Regions from separate parts of the Homo sapiens genome. Here region 1 is linked to region 2. The links are contacts of gene promoters, found by promoter capture Hi-C in blood cells and fetal thymus (Javierre and others, 2016). All regions are on one chromosome and are shown on one strand. The core of a region is centred on a gene start or on the middle of the fragment in contact, and the rest is flanking DNA. Distances in the headings are between cores, read along the strand shown. Region 1 has its middle 75 kb from the start of LINC01641. Region 2 holds the start of WNT3A (Wnt family member 3A).

Evidence for each region. The method cuts DNA at HindIII sites, captures the fragments that hold promoters and counts their contacts. A CHiCAGO score of 5 or more calls a contact.
Region 1: a contact is called between a fragment that was not itself captured here and the fragment with the promoter of WNT3A in region 2, in 2 of 17 cell types (M2 macrophages and total CD8 T cells). The highest score is 5.2, in M2 macrophages.

Annotation. Positions count from the first base shown.
Region 1 is chr1:227,464,920-227,471,843 of GRCh38, reverse strand. No RefSeq gene overlaps it. Among named protein-coding and RNA genes, the nearest start is that of LINC01641, 75 kb to the right of the region's middle. The HindIII fragment of the contact is 1,445 bases long and covers 2,896-4,340 here.
Region 2 is chr1:228,001,549-228,008,604 of GRCh38, reverse strand. It overlaps WNT3A (Wnt family member 3A), which reads right to left and starts at 1,607. Exons shown (of 4, transcript NM_033131.4): 1 at 1,406-1,607. The coding sequence starts at 1,476. RefSeq lists an enhancer at 4,044-4,093. The HindIII fragment of the contact is 11,751 bases long and covers 1-2,502 here.

The DNA.
Region 1 (6,924 bases), core at 2,369-4,868, 540 kb after region 2:
TTGACATGAGATTTAGATGGTGACACAGAGCCAAACTATATCATCCTACCCTGGACCCTCCCAAATCTCATGTCTTTCTAACATTGCAAAACACAGTCATGCTATCCCAGCGGTCCCCCAAAGTTTTAACTAATTTCAGCATTAACTCAAAAGTCCACCTCCAACATCTCATCTGAGACAAGGCAAATCCCTTTTACCTATGAGCCTGCAAATAAACAGTTACAAGATATAATGGGGGTAGAGTCACTGGATGAATAAACCCATTCCGAATGGGAGACATTGGCCAAAATGAAGGGGCTACAGGCCCCATACAAGTCTAAAATGCAGCAGGGCAGCCATTAAGTCTCAAAGCTCTGAAATAATCTCCTTTGACTCCATAGCTCACATCCAGGCCATATTGATGCAAGGGGTGGGCTCCCATGGCCTTGGGAAGCTCTGACCCTATGGCTCTGCAGAGTAGAGCCACCATAGCTGTTTTCACAGTCTGGCATTCAGTGCCTGAAGCTTTCCAGGTACACAGTGCAAGCTGTCAATGGATCTACTATTCTGGGGTCTGGAGGATGGTGGCCCTCTTCTCACGGCTCCACTAGGCAGTGCCCCAATGGGGACTTTGTACAGGGGCTTCAACACCACATTTCCCCTCTGAACTGTACTAGTAGAGGTTCTCCACAAGGGCTCCACCCCTGCAGCAGAATTCTACCTCAACATCCAGGCATTTTCATACATCCTGTGAAATCTAGGCAGAGACTCAAAAACCTCAGCTCTTGCCTTATGCACACCTGCAGGCCCAACACTACATGAAAAACACCAAGGCTTGGGTCTTGCACCCTCAGAAGCAATGGTCTGAGCTGTACCTTGGCCCCTTTTAGCTATGGCTGGAGCTGGAGCAGCATGGACAGAGGGTGCCATGTCCTGAGGCTGCAGAGAGCTGCAAGACCCTGAGCCTGGCCCATGAAATTATTCTTCCCTCCTAGGCCTCCAGGCCTGTGATGTGGGGGGGGCTACCACAAAGGTCTCTGAAATGTCCTGGAGGCATTTTCCCCATTGTCTTTGCTATTAACATTCAGTTAATCTTTACTTACGCAAATTTCTGCAGCCTTGAATTCCTCTCCAGAAAACGGGTTTTCTTTTCTACCACATGGGTAAGCTGCAAATGTTCCAAACTTTTCCACTCTTCTTCTCTTTTAAATGTAAGTTCTAGTTTCAGGTAATTTCTTTGTTTATGAAAATGAATGTAAGCTTTTAGAAGCAGCCAGGCCATATCTTGAATGCTTTGCTTCTTAGAAATTTCTTCCACCAGATACCCTAAATCATCTCTCTCAAGTTCAAAGTTCCACAGATCTCTGTAACAGGGGCACAAAGCCACCAGTCTTTTTGCTAAAGCACAGTAAGAGTGACCTTTACTCCAGTTCCCAATAAGTTCCTCATCTCCATCTGAGACCAGCTCAGCTTGGACTTCACTGTCCATATCACTATCAGTATTGTGGTCAAAACCATTCAACAAGTCTCTATGAAGTTCTAAACCTTCCCTCATCTTTCTATCTTCTTCTGAGCCCTCCAAACTGTTCCAACCTCTGTTTGTTACCCAGTTCCAAAGCTGCTGCCACATTTTCAAGTATCTTTCCAGCAATGCCCCCCTTCTCTGTATTAGTTCTTTCTCACACTGCTATAAAGAACTACCTGAGACTGGGTAATTTATAAAGAAAAGAAGTTTAATTGACCCACAGTTCCACAGGCTGTACAGGAAGCATGGCTCAGTGGCCTCAGGAAACTTACAATTATGGTGGAAAGTGAAGGGAAAGCAAGCATGTCTTGCAGTGGTGAAGCAGGAGAGAGAGAACAAAGGGGGGAAGTGTTGCACACTTTCAAAGCATCAGATATAATAAGAACTCACTATTGTGAGAACAGCAAAGGGGGAATACGCCCCCATGATCCAATCACCTCCCACGAGATCCCTCCCCCAACACTGGGAATTATGCAATCCAACGTGAGATTTGGCTGGGGACACACAGCCAAACCATATAACTGTTTAAATAAAGGCAAGGTAGTAGAAAATGTCTGTGGGACTATCTGAAAAAAGGTTCTTAGGAATATCTCTGTGAAGTGGCTTGGAGAAATCACATTATTCTGAAATGATTCAGAAGAACAAAGTACACTATTTACGTCTGATTTTTTTCTAAGTAACCAAAATAATTCCATTCTTCATTGTAGTAAAACTAAAATGTTTTACATCTAAGTAGGAATTTCTCAGTTTCCAAGTAAACTGATATAAAATTGTCCAAACTAAAGATATTAACAGCAAATTGTTAATGTCCTGCCTCAGTTTCTATGGAAACTTAGGAATTGTAGGCAAATGCTGAAATTGAGGTTTCGCTTATCACTTTATTGAATGCCAGAAAAATAAATTTCAAGAGGCAAATTGAAATGAAAATTTAAGTGTCATGCAAATAAACATAAAATGTTAAATTCTGTGCTCACAAACTATTTTTTTAACTTTTCTGATTTAACACTCCTTATTATTGTTCTATGCTTAAGGCATGATACCTTACCTCTCCTGTCTCCAGCTTCTCTTGTCCAGGAAATTCTCAGCTTCAATTTACAGTGACAAGAGAAAACTCTTTAAAAATTATTAACCTGCTTGATTGGTAAATTTGGGTAATTTTATTACCTCTACTTTTATCCGTATCTGTTGAAATTAATGTATAGACATAAGATGGAGCCAGGCAAGATGGAATATATCAGTAATTCCAGCTACTCAGGAGGCTGAGGCAGGAGGATCACTTGAGCCCTGGCCAGAAGACTGAGGCCAGTATGGGCAACACAGTTAAGACCCCTTTCCCTTTAGAAAAAAAAATGGACAGGTAAATGTTGCCTCTGAGTTGTATAAAATAAGCTTTTAATTGAACTAATCAAGGTGGAGTAAGTTCTAAGAGATAAGTTTACTTTATAGGTAAAACATACAATGTATTCCACAGTTTTAAAGTTTAGGAACTGAATTAGGCATCGCTACCATCTCCATGTCAGTTTCAGGGTACTTACTATAGAACCTTAGTTCTGTTCAGTAGCTGTCTTACATAGTCATTTCAGATCTCAAAGTCTTTGTTTTTTCATCATCAATACAGGGAGAATATACACAGGCCTTATTTGTGTTTGGAAGGGCCAAATAAGATGTACATTAAAATGTGTTGTACATACTAAAAAAAGACATGAAGAGCCTATTTTGGGATCTCATCCAGCACTACCCATCTACCAACTGGTGTGTAAAGTCACTGAGGTTTACCTTACACCACCAAACAGAGCATAAATATTCACAAGTACTTCCATACTTTGTGCATAAAGTTACAATCTATTAACACAATCTATTCGTTCTTTCACTATTATTGAATATTCTGAAAATTGAATATGGTACTTTCCAGTTATAAAGGCACATACATCATGAGCTTTAATTCTTCTTCTTCTTTTTTTTTTTTTTTTTTGAGACGGAGTTTTGCTCTTGTTGCCCAGTTTGGAGTGCAGTGGCGCGATCTCGGCTCACTACAACCTCCACCTCCCAGGTTCAAGTGATTCTCCTGCCTCAGTCTCCTGAGTAGCTGAGATTACAGGCATGCACCACCATGACCAGATAATTTTTTGTATTTTTACTAGTGATGGGGTTTCCTCATGTTGGCCAGGCTGGTCTCAAACTCCTGACCTCAGCTGATCCACCTGCTTTGGCCTCCCAAAGTGCAGTGATTACAGGCGTAAGCCACCATGCTAGGCCTAAGTTTTCTAACTTTTAAAGAAATTAAGAGCCCAATCAAAGTTTAAACAGAAGAGCTATAAGACATTTTCTCTATACTAATGAAATATCTGGCATTTATTAAAACAAATGAGACAACCAGATTTAACTATCTTTATGATACAATGTTTTCTATTTCAAAGAACTTAGTTTTTATTCAAGAACCATATTATTCAAAACCATTTCTACTTAAATTCGTTCTTTTTCTGATGGTAAAATATTAAAAATTTTCTTTCATCTCCCCCCTTTCCATCCCTATCAGAGATTAGAGTTTGAACTCTAACACTCTCATCTTTGAACATAATTCTGTTGACATGAGGAGGGAGCTATGGAAACAAACACTTGAACAGGCAGCATCTGGCATTTTAAACTCCCAAACCTTTACATCACAAATGTAACTCTGAATTTATGTTCCAGCTCTTGAAATTTTTTTACTATGAACCACCCCTCCACTTTTAGAACAAGGAGGAAAATGAAGTCCAGTAAGTCACCAGAGTAGATCTGAAGATATATTTGGGTTAAAGAGGAAATCTTAAAGCAATCAAAACACTGTGGGTAAGCTTTGGGTTTAAAAAACCATCAACTATTCTGCAGCCCTGGCAGTAACATTTTACACCATTCATAATCATTTTAAGCACTTCTCCAATTTTCTTCCCTTCAGTGTTCAAATTATAGTTGGAGGAATAAAGCCATTTCTATCGAGGTGACTTAAAACAACTTATTAAAAACTCCATACGCCAACCTCTATTCTGAATTTAAGCAAGAAATCCCTAAACATTGGGTCTAAATTTTCCCAAGTATCAGCTACCTTAACACATAAGAGAAAGGGAACAATCAGACTCTTACCTGGCTCCTTCATTTAGGTACCATCTAGATAGATAAGGAGAATGGGATGGGTACTCAGAAGTTGGAGTATTTGAGTTCTCATTAAGAAAAGGCAAAGAAGATATGAAGAAAGCTTCGAAAAAGTCTCATAGAATGATAAATTGTAGGGCTCAGACTGATGTCCTTTGGCAGACCAGCTTGGAGCTGGCATTGGGGGACACACAAGTCAGCATGCTTTCCATGGAGTGGTTCTGCTCCTCTTCACCACCATGTCAACCTTTGCTTGCTGCTGCCTGCTCACAGATCTCAGACCTGAAGTAGGACCCCGCTGTCCCCCTGATCCAGCCCAGTTTGGTGCTAGCATTGGGTGACACACAATAGGTCGGCATGGTCCCCATGGTGCACTTCTGCTCTTCTCTACTGCCATATGTTCCTTTGCTCACTGCTGCCTGCTTGCAGATCTCAGACCTGTGGGTAGGGCTCCACTGATCTCCTGTGCCAGACCAGCTTCCACTCTTCTCTGCCACTGCCTGCATTTTTGCTTGCTGCCACCTGCTCATAGATCTCAGCCCTACAATCGGGCTCCACCAGCCCTGTGCAGCAGCCCCACACAGGGCTGGCATTGGGGAAGATGCAAGAGTTCAGCATGTTACCAATGGGGCACCTCCACTCCTCTCCACCACTGCCTGTGCCTTTGTTCAATGCTGCATGCTCATAGATCTCAAACTCATAATAGGGCTCCACTGACCTCCTGCACCAGCTCTATTGGGGGCTGGCAGCATGGGACACGCAAGAGGTCATCATGTTACCCATGTGGCACCTGCACTTCTCTCCACCGTGGCCTGCACCTTTACTCACTGCTGCATGCTTATAGATCTCAGACCCACAATAGGGCTCCACAAATCTCCTGTGCCAGCCCTACTTGGGGCTGGGATTGAGGGACATACAAGTAGTCAGCATGTTCCCCAGAGGGTTCTTCCAGTCCTATCCACTGCCATCTGTACCTTTGATCATTGCCTCCTGTTCCTCATAAATCTCAGACCCCCAGTAGAGCTCCGCCAACCTCTTGTACCAGCACCGCTCATGGCTGGCATTTCAAGACACATAAATGATCAGCATATTACTCTTGGGGCACTTCTGCCCCTCTCCTCTGCCATCTGCATGTTTGCTCACTACAGCCTGCTCGTAGATCTCAGATCTGAGGTAGAGTTCCACTGACCTCCTGCACCAGCTCTGGTTGTGACTGGTTTTGGGGAACATGCAAGACGCCAATGCATTACCCAAGGGGTGCCTTTGTTTCTTTCCACTACCACCTACACCTTCACTCGCTGCCGCTTGCTCATACATCTGAAACTCACAGTAGGGCTCCACCGACTTCCTATGCCTGTCCTGTTTGGGGCTGGCACTAGGGGACATGCAAGAAATCAGAGTGTTACCCATGGGGCATCTTTGCTCCTCTCTGCTGCTGCCTGTGCCCTTGCTTGCTGCTGGCTGCTCCTTGATCTCAGATTTGCAGTAGTCCCCCACCAACCTCCTGTGCCAACCCCACTCGGGGCTGGCACTTTGGGACATACAAGAGGCCAGCCTGTTACCCATAGAGCAGCTCTGTTCCTCTCTTCCACCATCTGCATGTTTGCTCTCTGCAGCCTGCTCGGAGATCTCAGACCCACAGTAGAATTCTGTCGATCTCCTGCACTGACATTGCTTGGAGCTGGAACCCCGGGACATGCAAGAGGTTAGCCTGTGACCCATGGGGCGCCTCCACTCCTCTCCTCTGCCATCTGCTTGTATGCCTCCTGCAGGCTGCTTGGAGAATGCAGCCTCACAGTAGTGTTCCCGCCGAAGTCTTGGGTCAGCCTGGTTGGGGCTGGCACTCTAGGACATGAGAAGTTAGCCTGTGATCCACAGGGCACCTCCACTTCTTCTGTCATCTGCATGTTTGCAGCTGCTGTCTGCTCCTAGGTCTCAGCCTCGCAGTAAGATTCTGCCTACCTCCTACACTGGTCCTGCTTGGGCCTGGCACTGAAGGACACGGAAGAGGTCAGCATGTTACCTTTGGTGTGCCTTTGCTCCTTTCCACTGCCATCTGCACCATTCTTTGTTTCTGCCTGCTGGTAGATCTGACCCATGGTAGGGCTCTGCCAACTTCCTGTGCTTGTGCTGCTTGGGGCTGGCATAAGACACAAGGGGTCAGCCTGTTACCCGTGGTGCGCTTCTGCTCATCGTCACTACTGCCTGAGTCCTCACTGGCTGCTGCCTGCTCGTAGATCTCAGACCCACAGTAGGGCCCTGCCAACCTCCTGCACCTGTCCTGCTTGGGG
Region 2 (7,056 bases), core at 358-2,857:
GCCCCGAGCCTGACCCTCAGGTGGGCCACTGGGCGCAGCAGGTGCCGCACGGGAAATGGGGCACGCGGAAATAGGGGCGCGCGGGGGTCCCCGAAGCGCGTCCCCGCGGCCTCGTGGCCTCTTCCAGGCCCTTCAGCTGCCTAGGGCTGCCCCTTCCCCTCCCCGCTGCTCCTGGCCCGGCGCCCCTACCGCGGGAGCCCCCGCTCCTGAACCATCTCGAAGAGAAAAATTATTATCGGATTAGATGTACCTCGGCTCGCTGGGTCTCCCCCCTTCCCCTCGGCGTAATTATTATAATTCCAGGCTGCCGTCGGAGAAGGATGGGGGGGAGTGTGCATGCTTGTGGGGAGGCTTCTCTCCAACTGTGGGTCCTACCAGCGCTGCGCCCGGCCCTGCGCGCCCACATTCCTCCCACTTGTGTTCCTCAATCTTGGGCATCTCAGAGCGCCCTTAATTCGGAACTGGGGTGATCCTTGCTTGGTGAGGGCTCTGAGGGATCACAAGCCCTGGCGAAAGTGTGGCCACCGTTCCCCCTCCCACAGGATATGTGCAGTGGAGGTGGGAGGCCTGAGAGAGACCTTTCGGGACCCTTCCTTTGGTTTATCTGCACTTCCATCGCCAGGCTGGGGAGGGTCTCACGGAACGCGCCTTTTCTGGTGTGGAGGGCGCAGCACAGCGCTTTCTGATTGAGGGTCCTGGAGCCCCTCACACCCCGTGCTTAACTCACCCTTAACTCTCTCTACAGCAGCCCCTCATTGCCAGGTGGACCCATGCGGAGGGCTCGCAGAGAGGGCCCCTGGAAACCCCCGTGCCCGGACTGCGGCGGGGAGGCGCGCGGGGCCCAGGGCCGGCCCCCAGTGCGCCCCGCCGCCGGCTCTGCGCCACTCCCCGCCGGGTCCCAGCTTTCTTTACGTAACCACGCTGCTCCGAGCTGTTCAGTCTTGTCTCATCGACTTTGTTTTAAAACGTGTGTGTGTGTTTGTGTGTAAGATACGGTTTTTGAGGAAAGTCTCCGGCGAATTCTCTCTCGCTGGCCCTCTTCCCTCGCCTGTCCCCTGGCCTCGAGCTGCCTGTCCCCTCGGTGACCGTGCGTGCCGACCTTCTTTCAGCCTCTCCCCAGCCCACTGCTCGCCCTGTCCGACGCCAGGGGCAGCTAGGACCTCCGCAACCTCCCCTACTCCCCCGCTCGGGAATCAATGTCTCCGGAAACTCCGCCACCCACGCGTCCCAGCGGCCTGAACAGGTCCAAAGTGGCCGTCAAGGAAAACCAACCGCCCGCGGCCCGCACGCGGGGCTGGAGCAGAAGGGCGCGGGCTCGGGCCACCGCGGGGTCCCTGCCCGAGGGGACCGTCTGCTGCGGGCGCGGCGCACAGGGGCAGGGGCGAACGCGAGGAGGCTCACTCACCACCAGATCGGGTAGCTGCCCAGAGCCTGCTTCAGGCTGCAGAGGAGTAAGAAGTATCCGAGTGGGGCCATCGCCGCGCGAGAGGGCGCGGAGGGCCGGGAGTCCGCCCCGAGAGCGTGAGCGCCGGGGGGGGCCGGGCCCTGGGAGCTGGCGCGGCGGCGTCGCTGGGCCCTCCTGCGGCCGCGGGTGCGCGGGTGTGCGCGGGCTCCGAGGGCGGCGCTGCGCCAGGTGGGCCGGCGGCCGGGCTGCGGGCCGAGGCCCGGGGCGGCGCGGGGCGGCGGGGGCGGGGCAGCGCCGCGGGGGGCGCCCGCCGGGGCCGGGGCCCGGGCGGGGCAGGCAGGGGCAGGCGGGGCCACGGGAGCCCGAACCGCGGCGGCGGCGTTGGCCCCCGCCTGCTGCCGTGGGTGTCGGTGTGTCTGAGGACGTGCTGGTGTGCGGGCCCCCAGGTGTGCGCGGCGCGCTGGGGTGCGCCAGATGGGCAGGCGGCCGGCCCGGGGCCGCGCGATCCGCAGGCGCCCTCCTGGAGCTCCCGGGCCGCGTCCTGGGTTTCCAGCCCCGCGCGCCCTGCGCTCACGGTGGGACCCGCAGTCCCCCTCTCGCTCCTGGTCTGTGGCGAGCTCCGTCTCTTGCCCCCGAGGTGGCTGGGCTAGGGCTCCCCTTCATCCATCAACCTTCTCGGGGCGGGGGTTTGGGGAGGGAGCGGACGGTTGTCGGGTGCACGTCCTTTGGCCCCGTCTGCCTGCGGCCGGACTCCTTCCGCTGAGACCAGAGCTGCCTGCGCCTTCGGCGGATAGAAAGGGTCCGGGATGGGTGCAGCCTGCAATGGGGACAGCGGCCAGGTGGACCTCCAAGGTGCAGCCACGCGTCTGTGGGTCACAGCTGGGGACGAGTGGGACTCTCTCTGTGGCGCAGGGATTGACCCCTCCATTTTTCTCCCCATCACTCCACCAGGGAAGAGAACAGTGGAAGCCCCTGACGCGATGGGACGGTGGGGAAGCGCAGTGCTGCCCCCAGGTTCTGGGACCACCAACCTCCAGGTCTGCCCAGAGCTATGCAGCCTGTTCCGACAGAGGGATTTCTGACTGTTTAGTTAAGCTTTAGGAGTTTGCTGATGGAGAGGGGAAGACCTGAGAGGGAAAGTGACTTGCCCAAGGTCACCCAGTGACCAGTCAACTCTCCAGCTCCCAGTCATTTGCATATCCATGTGTTGCCCCGGGAGCCGCCTGGGGAGATTGTAATTTGCAGAGGGGAAGTGTCCCCAGCCTCCCCCGGGGGACCTGATAACTGGGATGGTTAAGAGGCACTCTCCCATCGCGGCTGGTCCTCCTGCAGTCACACTGTGACCTAAGCTCAGCAGGAATCTTGGTTACCGCGTTGGAATTGAGGAAGGAGGCTCCGGGAGCTTCTGAGAGCTCCAAGCAACTCCAGACTCATCCGTGGTGTGTTCTCTGGGGATACTGCACTGCCCAGCCTGTGGGCTAGGCCTCCTGTGCGGCTGCAGAGTTGCGGGAGGGAGGTGCATGGAGAGGCAGGGATGGGCATGTGGCCGCTTCTGTGCAGCTTCTCAGGGAGGGGGTGGCTGAGATGTCCCCAGGTGTGTCACTGGCTGGCTGATGGAGGCAGCTGCTTCCCACAGTGTGCCCCACTCACAACTTGGTTCTGCGTTTGCAGAGGGAGCCTGTGGTCCTGTGGACACCGGCCCTAGGGGTCACCTGGTGACTATGTCAGGAGTCCTGAATTCAGAGTGACAGCCTTTCTCTTTGAAAAAAAGTTCCCTTTGCTCCTCACTACCTTGGGAATCCAGTTTCCGCTACGCATGCCCGGCCGCCCACCCGCTTCTCCCAGGCACTGCGGGGCCCCCACCCTCAGAGGGAAAGAGGGAAGAGCTCTGGAATGAAGCGGCGGTGGGGTCAGGGAGGGGGAGGGGAGGAGCGTGTTTGTGCTCCTCTGGACTTGGCCTTGCAGCAAAAATCCCACCCAATTGTGGTACTGGGGAAAACCTGGGCTGCAGGTGGGGTGGGCGCCTGAGCCCAGCCTGAGGCACGCAGACTCTTGTTACCCCCACCTCCCCAGAAATGAGGCTCGGGGATTAGAGCCCCCTAGAGGATGCCAGCTCTGCCCACCGACAGGATGGGCCTCGTGACCTCACTGAAGGGGGCAGGTGAGCGCAGCCTGCTCAGTCCTGCCCTCTTGCCCCTTGGTTTCCCAAGCCCCTCCTCCTGGCTGCTTTCTTCTCCCCCATCAGGCCCCATCCTCTGCCCGTGCCACCTGGGTAGTACACACACTGAGATCCGGCCGCTTCCCAGGCTGCAGAAGATGAAGGGAGGAGCAGACTCCGAGGCCCCAGGCAGGAGCTCAGCCTGCCCAGGCCAGGCTCTCAAGCGAGGGCTCCTGTTTCTGAAGACTCTGGATACCAGGGAGCCAGGGTAGGCTGCATGGAGGAACGAGCGGAGGCTTCTGGAACTAGCTCCTCGGTACCTGCCTGTACCACGTGGGGCTCCTCCTTCCCTCTGTGAGCCTCCGAGAGCCTCGGCTCCTGAGCAGCCAAGTCAGTGGGGCTGGGCTGGGGTGGGGTGGAGAGCAGAGTGGGAGAGCAAGGGTGGGACCCCAGCTGGGTGTCAGGGGCCTGAGGGGCTTCTCCTGAGTGTCTTCCAGGCTCGGGTGATGTTGCCTACAGCACCTCTTGTCCCTTGCTTGGGGTGCAGAGGAAGGTGAGGGGCCTCCCTGGAAGCGCCCTCTGCTGTTGCCTAAAGGGAGCTGTCCCTGACCAGTCTGTCAAGGTCTATGTCCCCACCTGTGCATTGCGCTGGGGACTGGGATGGCGTAGGTTGAGGTCAAGGCATAGGGCAGGCTCCTGGGGGCATGCCGGGTGGCTGCTGAACGGTGACTGAGACCCGGTCCTGTCTCCACAGACCTCCTTGTTGGCCAGGACACAGACCCACATTCCAACACTTGGAACGGGGAGGTGGGTGAGACCTTTGCAAGCCAGCGTCAGGAAAGGGCTAATCGTCCTCAGAGAGGGCACGTGTGAGAAGGCCTGACAACCGGGCAGCTCTGGAGCTAAGCCCTGAGCAGCCAGCCATGTGTTTGATAAAACAAAACTCCCCATGTATGGATGGTGCTGGAGGGAACATCATTTCTGGCCTGCTGGAGGGCCCAGGGAGCGTGCTCCCTCCTTCCAGAATAGGCCCCCAGGCGAGAGGAGGCGCTGCCCACCCCGGAAGCTCTGTAAGATACCTGCTTGGGTGGGGTAAGCCAGGTGGGAGGGGCATCTCTGATGGACAGTTTGCTGTGTGAGGTAGTGGGTTCCCTGTCTACAGCGGGTGTGAGTCCCTGTTATGGGTGGGGCAAGCCAGGATTTCAGACACTAACTGGTCATCTTTTGCTTCCTTTTTTTCTCATTTGAGCAAAAATAAGTTGGGGGAAAACAGAGAAGGGGTTTGGGCAGACAGAGTTCAAGGCTCTGGGGGCTTTCTGGCTGAGGGACCCTGGAAGGAACAGCAGCAGGACAGGGTAGGGGTCCAGGGTCAGAAGACGGAGTGCCCCTCCACAGTCAGTTCCATTGGAACTTGGTCCCTTCTGGAAGCTTCCCTGACCTTCCTTGTGGGGGTCACTCTTTGGATGCCTTCTCCATAAGCAGTGGGTTCTTGAGATCAAAACTTTCAATTGGCCAGGTGTGATGGTGCACACCTGTAATCCCGGCACTTTGGGAGGCCAAGATGGGAGGATCATCTGGGCTGAGGAGTTCAAGGCTGCAGTGAGCTATGATTGCATCACTGCACTCTAACCTGGGTGACAGAGTGAGACCCTGACTCTAAATAAAATAAAATAAAATTAAATTAAATTAATCAAGAAAACAACTTATAGTCATTCTTTGCCCAGCTCCTCAGGCTAAAATAAATACCTAAGAGCTTTGTTTATTAAGTAATTAGGTCCAACCACTTAATGATCAGTAGCTATTTGAAAAAAAATCATATCAGTTAAAAATAAATGAATCATATTTTTATTTCATCCTCACATAACTGCAGTTACTGGCCCTCCAGAAGCAACACTCTCACTTCTTGTTCAAGGTCCTGGCTCTCAGGCCATACAAGGAGATGTTCATGCAGGACAGGTGACCCTCAAACAACACAGGTTTGCACTGTGTGGGTCACTTATACATGGATTTCTCCTGCCTCTGCCACCCTGACACAGCAAGACCAAGCCCCGCTTCTGTCTTCCTCCTCAGCCACTCAATATGAAGGCCACTAGGATGAAGACCTTTATGAGGACCCACTGCCGCCTCATGAACTGTGAGTCTGGCTTCTTTTCTAGGTTTTCTGAGCAGGAATTTCCTTTCTCCAGCTGAGTTTATTGTAGGAACACAGGGGATAACACATGTGGCATGCAGCGTATGTTCTGACTGACTGTGTGTGGGATCAGCAAGGCTTCTGGTCAACAGGAGGCTGTTAGTAGTTTCGTTTTCAGGGAGTCAAAAGTTATACTCAAGTTTTTGACTTTGCAGGGGGTTGGTGCCCCTAACCCCCATGTTGTCCAAGACTCAATTGTACTTTCTTTAAAACAAATTTTTTTTGCAGGGACGAGGGCCTTACCATGTTGCCCAGGCAGGTCTTGAACTCCTGGGCTCAAGTGATCCTCCCACTTTGGCCTCCCAAAGAGCTAGGATTACAGGCGTGATATTCTGCAACACCCTGGGAATTTGCTGTGGCGTCCCAGGGTGCCTTAGCACACAGTTTGGGAACTGCAGCTGGAAAAACAGCAGCCAGGGCTGGGCCTGAGATGCACAGGTCAGCCAAACAGAGACAAGGAAAATGACGTGGCCACCTGCTTCCCCAAAGCTGCTGTGGTGAGACAGGGTCTCTGGGCCACAGACCTGTCTGCCTCCCACCTCCTGTCTATGGCTGTCCTGTCTTTCTATCAGTCTCTGTGTGTTTTCCTGTCACAGCCGATGAGCCCTCCTGCACAGTTGTGAGTTGCTCTTCCTGTCTGCAGCCCCTCTCTACATTCCTTGTCTGTCCCTCCGCCCCGTCTCCACCTTTGTTGGCATTGTTCAGCTCAGGCACTGTGGGAATTACCTCCTCCGCGTTAATATCACCATGAGAGCCCCCGTGGACATTACTGATGTGGGTATGTCCTGGCAGGGCTTTGCAGGTATGGCTGTGAGCTCAGGGCTGTCTGTCTTCCTGTGGGTTACCTGCCCTCTGTGGGAGGCTGTGTGTGGGGTCTACATATCCACAGCTCTGGGTTCCTGCTGTGTATTTATTCAGACCGGAGTCTGTGGCCTCCCCGTGGCCCCTGCCCAGGGCAGGTCCAGCCCACAGAAGTTGTTGCTCTGCCCCCTTGCCGTGCACGCCAGTCACAAAGCAGGATGGCGGGGGCACCATCCCCGTTTCCCCCTCACAGTGGCACACCACTGCACTGCTTGTCTCAATGAGCATCTCCCACTAGCCCAATCTGGTTACCTGTCTGCTTCTTACCATTGCCCTGTATCTATCTTTCTGAGCTTGCCGTTATATTTATATTTTAAAAGACTTTTCTCCTCTCCAGCCCAGATCTCTTATCAAATTTCCACTTTCCTTCAGTTCTCCGGAAGGTTCTTTTTTATTTGTTTGAGACAGGGTCTCACTCCGTCGCCCAGGCTGGAGTGCAGT